2 separate regions of the Homo sapiens genome follow, and region 1 is linked to region 2. Evidence: promoter capture Hi-C in human tissues and cell types (Jung and others, 2019). All regions are on one chromosome and are shown on one strand. The core of a region is centred on a gene start or on the middle of the fragment in contact, and the rest is flanking DNA. Distances in the headings are between cores, read along the strand shown. Region 1 overlaps PLEKHG1 (pleckstrin homology and RhoGEF domain containing G1). Region 2 holds the start of IYD (iodotyrosine deiodinase).

Region 1 (4,367 bases), core at 1,203-3,702, 310 kb after region 2:
GAAAAAAATTCAAGATTCAGACCACAAGCCATATAATATATCACAGTGAACTCCCAATGAACTAAAGAATTACAGATTTGCAGTAGCACAGTTTCAGCTGTAAAGAAGAAAATTTTTTTGAAGGAGGAGAAAATTGAAAAGGGCAAAGATGCACATATTTATTGATATGAAGTTTAAAACCTTTTAGAACTAGAACGTAATGAAAGCAACAAAATGGGAAAATATGCACAGCAACAATTGGAGACTTAATTCATGTGCCCACACAAGAATTTATATAAATGTGAGCACAACGTCAGATTCTAATTGGATAAGTGGTCCAAGGATAAAACCGGCTATTACACAAAGGAAAACAAATAGGAAACCAAATCTGAAAATAACACTCAAATACATTTTAAAATGGAAACATTTTACACCTATCAAATAAACGGAAGTCAAAAATCAACAAGGGACAGGTTGTGGAGAAACAGGTTATATTCATGCATTACTGTTAACCGTGTAAACTATGTAATCCTTTTGGAGAAAACCTGACAGTATATAATAAGGATGATGACAGTCTTACCCTTTGAACCTGCTGTAGCTCTTCCTTCCTGGCAGTTTATCCCGACGGTGTCATGAGACAAGAACTTATTGAGCAACTGCAGTGCTAGAAGCTGTGAGAAATGGAGATGAAGGAGACAGATTCTACCCTGAAGGTGAAGCTGGTGCAACTTAAAGGCACTAACATAATTCATGTTCAAAAATGTCTTCATGGAATTAATTATAATGAGAAAAAATACTTAGTGACAGCCTACATATCTAAAAATGTAGAACTCATTATTTTCCTGAGTCACCCACCACCCTATAACCAACTCTCTCCCGTTCTTCTATGCATACCCTGGGAGTGAATGGCAATGCCAGCCCCAAGGTGCCTTAACCACAAGCTTCAGCCTTTCCCTCCCTCCTCCCTCTCCTTCATAGCCCAGCCCCATCCAATCAATTCTCAAACTATAGGCATTCTCCCTGCAGCTGCCTTTATCCAGGCTGCCACCACCTCATCAATTCTCAAACTATAGGCATTCTCCCTGCGCTGCCTTTATCCAGGCTGCCACCACCTCTTCCTTAGCAGGTGTCTATCTCCATACTTGCATTGTTTCTTCCTCTGGTCTGTTTTCCAACTTCATTGAGAGTTGTCTTTTCAAAATGCAGATCTGATTGATTATGGTACTCCTCCATTTAAAACATTCAGTCCAAAGTCTTTACTGGATACATAAGACCCTATGTGGCCTGGTGCCTACTAACCTCTACAGTCTTGTCTCTTGTTTCTTCCCCTATACACACACACACACACACGCGCGCGCGCACACACACCACCAGTTTCTACCCTACTGCATTGCTTGGAGTTTCACTGGATAGGCACCATGAGTCTTTGCACATGGCACTCCCTCTCCTTAAAAGCCTACACTGATTTCTCACCCCATCCCATGACTCCAGGCTGGCTGACTCCTATTTATGCCTGTTTGTTCTTCCAGACTCAATTCATATGTCATCCCTTCTAGGGACATCTTTATGATCTAGGTCCCTTCCTGACACATGCAGACACAAGACTCAGTTGGGGGCCCACTTATGTTCACACACCTGATACATACCCCTCATGTAGAATGCTGTCAGTGCTTTGGGAAGCTGAGGCAAGAGGATCACTTGAGGCCAGGAATTCAAGGCCAACCTAGGCAACATAGTGAGATCCCGTCTCTAAAAAAGAAAAAGAAAGTTTAAATTAGCTGGACACGGTGGTGCACACCTGTAGTCCCAGCTACTTGGGAGATTGAGGAGGGCGGGTCACTTGAGCCTGGGAGTTCAGGGTTACAGTGACCTGTAATTATGCCACTGTACTCCAGCCTGGGTGACAGAGTGAGACCCTGTCTCCAAAATAAATAAACAAATAAATAAATAAGTCAGTACAAGTATTATATTATGCATAAAGGCAAAATGCAACAAAATAGGTCATAGGTCAATGTGTTCCCTGACTTTTTGTAGCAAAGTGTTTTTTAGTGTTATTTTTAATTGATAATAATTGTATATATTTATGGGATACAATGTGATGTTTTGATGCATATATATATATATATATATATATATATATATATATATATGTTGTGGAATGATCAAATCAGGCTGTTCTTTGTGGTCAGGACATTTAAAATCCATTCTTTTAGCTCTTTTGAGGTCTACAATACGTTACCATTAACTACAGTCACCATGCTGTGTAATGGATCACCAGAGCCTGTTCCTCCTGTCCCACTGAAACTTCAGACCACTTGAACAACATCTCTCCTTGCCCACCCAGGCCCCTCCACCATAGCTGAGTGTTTTAAAACTATTCCCAATGAACACCTAAATTTAAGCAGTGCCTGAATAGCTTTCACAACTCTACAAAGTGAGCAGGGAGAAATCTAACTCTTTATGCCATTAATATATAAGCAGGAATTGTTTCACTAGATCTGTGTTAACTTCAGATGCCCTAGGAAACAGGAGTTTTTATATTAGGTTCAGCCTGAATTACCCATCTTGACCTAATCTAACTGATGTAAATAGTAGGAATTAATTTTGTGCAGGCAGGGGTAAAGATTAATCCAGGTCAGTCAGCACCTTGTAATTAATCCACATACTCTTTAAAATAGAGAAAGAAATGTTGGCATACTCTCTGGCTTAAGGTTCTGCACCAATCTAATGTAGAGTTCTAAAATTTTATAGTGTTCACATTTCAGGGTTGAATTACAAATAACAAAGGCTTTGCTAAAGATGGTTATTTCCAATGGCCAAATCTTGAGGTGTTGTTAGGAATTGGTTCTAACCAATCATGAGCAAATGAATATGTGAATTAAAGACAAAATATTTCTAGGTGATTTTTAAATATGATTAGAAAACCTGGGTTTTATCATATTAGGTTATCACTGATATTGCAGTTTTAAAACCTGAAATCTCTGAATATCAATTAATTATAAACTAGAAATCAGCCTAAATTCATTAACTTTCATTGCTGAGAAAATAAGTAATAAATCTCTGAAAAAACAATATTAATGAGCAATTTTCTACAAAATCAAAATTTTAAACTCTTATTAAATTGTGTGTGTGAGTGAAAGTGCCATAATGATGTATGGTAGCCTTGCCTTGCTTTGATATAGAGGAGAAAATAAATACAGAAATCATGTTTGTAGGATTTTAAAGGTTTGGCATGAGTAAGCACCATTGCCTTGACTTTTCTGAGTCGCTCTGTTCTTAATAATAGCTTTTAATATAATTTAACGTAAGTTGTAATCATATAATAAATATTAAGCTCCAAAGAGATATTTAGTTATTTGTTAAATTTCTTGAACTTCATGGCTATGTTCAGCAATATAGCATTTCTCAGGGCAGAGAAGATGTGAATATTAAATGTAAGTAAGGGAGAAATACAGGCAGCTCACTTTTCACCAAAGTGTTCTCTTTGAAGAATCCATAAAATAAAGTAGTTATCATAAAGCAAATCATGTTTTCCCATGGGAATGAGTTCATAATTACAGGCTTGCTTCTTTACCTAATTATAAGCAATAGCATACTTTAAAAAATTACAACAGCTGTGATAGAAATATCACCCACACTAATTATACCAAAGTCCTCAGGGCAGTATAGTTGTTCATTCAGTCATTCAGCAAGCATTCGTTGAGTATGTACTCTGTGCCAGGTGCTGTTTCAGGCTGTGGGAATTTGATGCAGGCAAAAAAACACATGCGCTTTCCCTGCCACCCCATCAGTATATTAAACTAGACTAGTAGGAGAGATGGCTGTAAGCCAGATATTCATTGTAATTATAAATGCCATAAAGGAAAAAAAAATACAGGTAGGCATTGTCATGAGGAGGTGATCGCCATGCTGAGGTCTGACAGGTGAGCAGGAACTGAGGCGGGGGCAGAAAAGCAATGTGGAGAGACAGTGAGCTTTGGAGGGACTTAGAGATGAGTGGTGTGTCTGGCATGGTATGGGAGAGAAGGCCAGTAAAGTCAGCAAGGGGGCCAGGATGGGAACATGTGAGTGCTGGAGGCCAGGTTACATACAGGTTGTGATCCTTATTCTAGAAGAAATGAAGAGGCATGGAAGAGTTTTCAGCTGATGGGGTAAGGATAGGGTGACATCAGGTCTGCCATTTGAATGATCATGGCACTATAGTTCTCCCCTCCAGAGAATATTTAGTAGAATGTTATACTAGTACAGATGGAAGATGACCAGGGTAGAGATGGAGAAAAGGAAGTGACATGCAAGTGAATTAAGAAGTAAAGAAATTGACTAGAGGTGGTAATGATTTGAATATGTGGAGTGATGGAAAAAAGGTGGAAAGGATGGCTCTGAAATTT
Region 2 (4,492 bases), core at 809-3,308:
AAGCTGGGCCCCAACACAGGCTCTGCCATTTTCAGCTGCCTGCGTGGGGTTGGATCACATGGACTGGACATGTCCCCTCTGACACCCTTTCAGCAGGCACAGGGAGGGCACTTTCCTGTACAAAAGCTGTCGGCATGGCAGGCAGCACCACCAAATTCAATGGTCTGTGGAGGCCAGTGCTTCCATAATAAACTTTGTTTATTATCTTCTACAGAGTTCTCTGGAGTTAGAGAACCAATATGATATACATCTTAAAAAACAACTGTCTATCACAAAAAGGAGTATTACAATATATGATACAATAAAACCATCAAAATGAGTATTGAAATAAATAACACATATTCAATTTTTTAAATAGATAATATATTTACAACAGCTCAAAATACTTAAATTATGGAATAGTATTCAGTAGAAATTCTCTCACCCTTGTCCCCCATCTATCCAGTTTCCACACTCCCTCCAAAACAAGTAACCACTGTTTTTTTCACTGTTTATTTTGAAATAATATAGACTCACAAGAAATTGCAAAATTAATAAAGAGAATTCCTGATATAACCGCTCCTTAGAGTATGCTTTTCCAGGAAATACATATATAAGTTTGTATAAATGTATCATATTTTCCACTCTGTTTTATTCAAATGGCATCATGTTATACATACGTTTGCACCTTGATGCTAAAGACTGAATATGTCTTGGCAAAATTCATGTGTTGGAGCCCTAAGCCCCAGTACAATGGTATTTGGAGGTTGGGCCTTTGGGAGGTGAACAGGTGATGAGAGTGGAGCCCTCATTAATGAGATTAGTGGCCTTATAAGAAAAAAGATGATAGAGATGATCTGTTTCCACCATCCACTGTGTGAGGTTACAGCAAGAAGGCACCTGTTGGCAAACCAGGAGGGGAGCCCTCACCAGGAGCTGATTTGCCAGCACCTTAATTATGGACTTCTCAACCTCCAGAACTATGATAAATAAATGATAAATAAATTTCTTTCTTTCTTTCTTTCTTTCTTTCTTTCTTTCTTTCTTTCTTTCTTTCTTTTCTTTTCTTTTTCTTCTTCTTCTTCTTTCTTTCTTTTTTTTTTTTTAGAGGAACTTTCACTCTTGTCGCCCAGGCTGGAGTGCAATGGCACAATTTCGGCTCACTGCAACCTCCACCTCCTGGGTGGAGCTATTTTCCTGCCTCAGCCTCCTGAGTAGCTGTGTTTGCAGGCATGTACCACCAGGCCCAACTAATTTTTGTATTTTTAGTAGAGATGGGGTTTCATCATGTTGGCCAGGCTGGTCTCGAACTCCTGACCTCAAGTGATCTGCCCCTCTCAGCCTCCCAAAGTGCCGGGATTATAGGCATGAGCCACCATACCTGGCTGAGAAATAAATTTATATTGTTTAAGCCACCCGGTCCATAGTATTTTTGTTATTTCAGCCATAACTGACTAAGGCACTTTCTAAAACAGACAGACAAACTAACACATAAAAAGCCCTACTGAAGTAATTACATAATCAAGTTGTCACTTTAATTTTTTGTGTCACTTTTCCTGGATCAAAGTTTTTCTCTGATGCAAAACATGATATTCTCTTTACTCCATATATTGGCTCAGGTATCATAAAAAAAAAATCAAAACCCTAGGGCTGTTTTCACAAATATGCCATTTAAAATGCATGGTGCCAAACCTCTTTCCTGAACATTTTCTTCCAGCAGATCTGAGTTGGTGTGTGGAAATCTATTTAAAAAAAACAAAAACAAAAACAAGTTCTTCAGGTGATCTAGCTAGATCTAGCACATGCAAGTTCTTACTCAGATTCTGGCAATTGTTGTCTAAGAATATATCGACAGAGTACATACTTTTAAAAAGTTAATGGACTGGTGTATAACCAAAGCCACAACACCCCACACATGTGACTGTGATCTTTGCTCCTTTGCAAAGTCCTCACAGAGTTGAAGAGTTCTGCACTTTGTTCCTTCCCTGGCACACCTGTGTCTGCATTCCTTCTATCTCCCGGCATTCTCCACTCCTGTCTCTGTGTGTTTAAAAACCGGTGTGGGAAGTGTGCACGCCTGTGACGTCAGACTCCAGACCATGTATTTCCTGACTCCCATCTTGGTAGCCATTCTCTGCATTTTGGTTGTGTGGATCTTTAAAAATGCCGACAGAAGCATGGAGAAAAAGAAGGGGGAGCCTAGAACCAGGGCCGAAGCTCGCCCCTGGGTGGATGAAGACTTAAAAGACAGCAGTGACCTGCACCAAGCAGAAGAAGGTAAAGACACCAGCTATGCTGCTTAGCTTCGCTGTCGTGTTGTGTTGATGATGAGTGTGAGTCAATGGCAGGGCTTATGGAGAGGAAGAAACACACACAGGCCAGCTTCAACATCAACCTCTATTGTGCTAATGAATCAGTGCTTGGCACAGACAGGTCATCTCTCTCCAGTGATGAGCTTGTCACCTGCTGGGACCAACCCTTTTTTATTTTTGATGCCCAGTGAAAAAGCTGTTGAGAGGCTGAAGTTTTCCCTGGCTACAATTCTGTTCTGGTTGTTAAAATCTTTCTGCAGGAATTCATCCCAGGCTGGCAGTGGGCAGGGACTAAGAGGCCAGGTTTTGATCAGGAACTTTGAAATCTACCAAGTGGCATCACCTAGGAGGCTGCTACCTTTCCCTGTGCCAGGCCCTGGAAGTGAAAGCCTGGGATGGCCTCTGTCCTCAACAAACTGAATGTCCAGTTCAGCTGCCAAGATGATACACTAGAATCAGAGAGAGTAACAAAGAGACAGACCCGGTGGAACTGATTCTAAGGTGTTTAGAGTAGGCCTGGGAGTTTGACGGTGCAGTCAGGGAAAGGACAAACCAGGCTGGGAGGATGAATAGGGTACAAATAGCAAGTGCTGGGAGGCCTGTCAGGCAACAAGGAGCCAAAGGAGCAGAAGCACCTGGAGGCCTGGGGCAGGGGTAAGAGAGGAAGTGGAGAATTGAGGGTGGAGGGAGAGGGTAAGAATGGAAGTAGAGAATTGAGGGCGGGAAGGTTATGGCCACCTTGAGAAGAAGAGGTGATGAAGGAGGCAGGTAGGAAGGGAGAGAGCGTGGAGGAAGCTTGAGCCATCTGTGTTTGAGAAGCTTTGTCTGGGATGGGTTCGATTTGGAAGAGGCTCTGTGATCTTCAGCTGGGCTAATGATGCCCCCATCCCCAAACAGAGGCCACCTGGACATGTGAGTGTGTGTGAGTGTATGTGTGTGAGAGTGTGTGTTTATGAATGTGCATGTGTGTGTGCGCGTGCGTGTGTGTGTGTGCATGAGAGTGGATGTGTGTGCGCGTGCATGTGAGTGTTCATTAATGTGCATGTGTGAGTGTGTGTGCATGAGTGTGTGTGCACGAGTGGGTGAGTGTGCGTGTGAGTGTGCACGTGTGTGCATGAGTGTGTGTGAGCATGCATGAGTTTGTGTGTGCATGCATGAATGTGTGTGTGCGTGCGCATGAGTGTGTTTGTGAGAGAGTGTGTGCATGAGTGTGTGTCCTAATCTCAGGACCGGGGCGCAGGGTGTCCAGCTGGCTCTCAGTGCTAACAGCCTGTAGTGCTGACTGCACCGTACAGGAGTCTAGCCTCTCAGCAGGGCTGCCTCTTGCTCTCCTACATTGAAACCTCTTCCACTCAGAACGTCAATTCTACCCAGCGGAGAAGCACTTCCCTTAATCCAGGGAACATCTGCTGTGAAGCTGGGTAATGGTTTGTGCTGGTAAGGATGGCCTGGATGGTGGGGGCAGGTGGGAATGCAGTGGAAGGCGTGGATCAGAGTAAAGTTAATGGAAGAGCAACAGGGTTTGCTAGTAAATTGGATATTGGGAAAAGGAGGAGAGAGGGAGAGTTGGAGACTGGAAGCTATCATAAGTGGGTGAGGGAATGAGGATCCAGCTTAAAGGGGAAGATGTTGAGTTCCATCGAGGACATGTTTGATTTCAGACGACAGTGACACACCTGAGCAGAAAAGGGAGACAGCAGTCTATGTTAGGGGCCCAGGCCACAGATACTGACTGGAGAGTCACCAGTATGGGGAAGATACTTGGAACCTGGAGAAATAATGAATCCACAAAGTGGGCATTGCTAGAGAGAAGGCTGAGGATAGAACTTGAGGGACACATGCGGTTAAGAGGAACTGTGGAAGAAAAATGTACTAGAGAAAGGGAGGAGCTGTGGGAAAGGGGGCTCTGGGATCATAACAGTAACAAGCCCTTATATATTAATAGCTCTTAATGTATGCAATCACAGCCACATATTATGTGTAGTAAATCATTTCATCTTCATGACAGTACAATGAGGTAGGCACTATTAGAATCCCCATATTACAGATAAGGAAATTGAGGCCCCAATAGGGTAAGCTCAGGAAGGTGATTGCAGAGATAGGACCCAAGCCAGCTGTTTGCTGGGCTGCCTCTCCCCTGGGAGAATGACCTAGAATGGAGGAGGCAGGAGATAGCCAGCAGGGACCAACATTCTCTGAGA

What was found. The method cuts DNA at HindIII sites, captures the fragments that hold promoters and counts their contacts. A contact is called where the count stands out against the background at its distance.
Region 1: a contact is called between a fragment that was not itself captured here and the fragment with the promoter of IYD in region 2, in 1 of the 25 tissues and cell types used here (IMR-90 fibroblasts).

What each region holds. Positions count from the first base shown.
Region 1 is chr6:150,675,975-150,680,341 of GRCh38, forward strand. The region is part of intron 2 of PLEKHG1 (pleckstrin homology and RhoGEF domain containing G1); the gene reads left to right. Among named protein-coding and RNA genes, the nearest start is that of PLEKHG1, 78 kb to the left of the region's middle. The HindIII fragment of the contact is 6,713 bases long and covers 1-4,367 here.
Region 2 is chr6:150,366,954-150,371,445 of GRCh38, forward strand. It overlaps IYD (iodotyrosine deiodinase), which reads left to right and starts at 2,059. Exons shown (of 5, transcript NM_203395.3): 1 at 2,059-2,256. The coding sequence starts at 2,079. The HindIII fragment of the contact is 8,635 bases long and covers 1-4,492 here.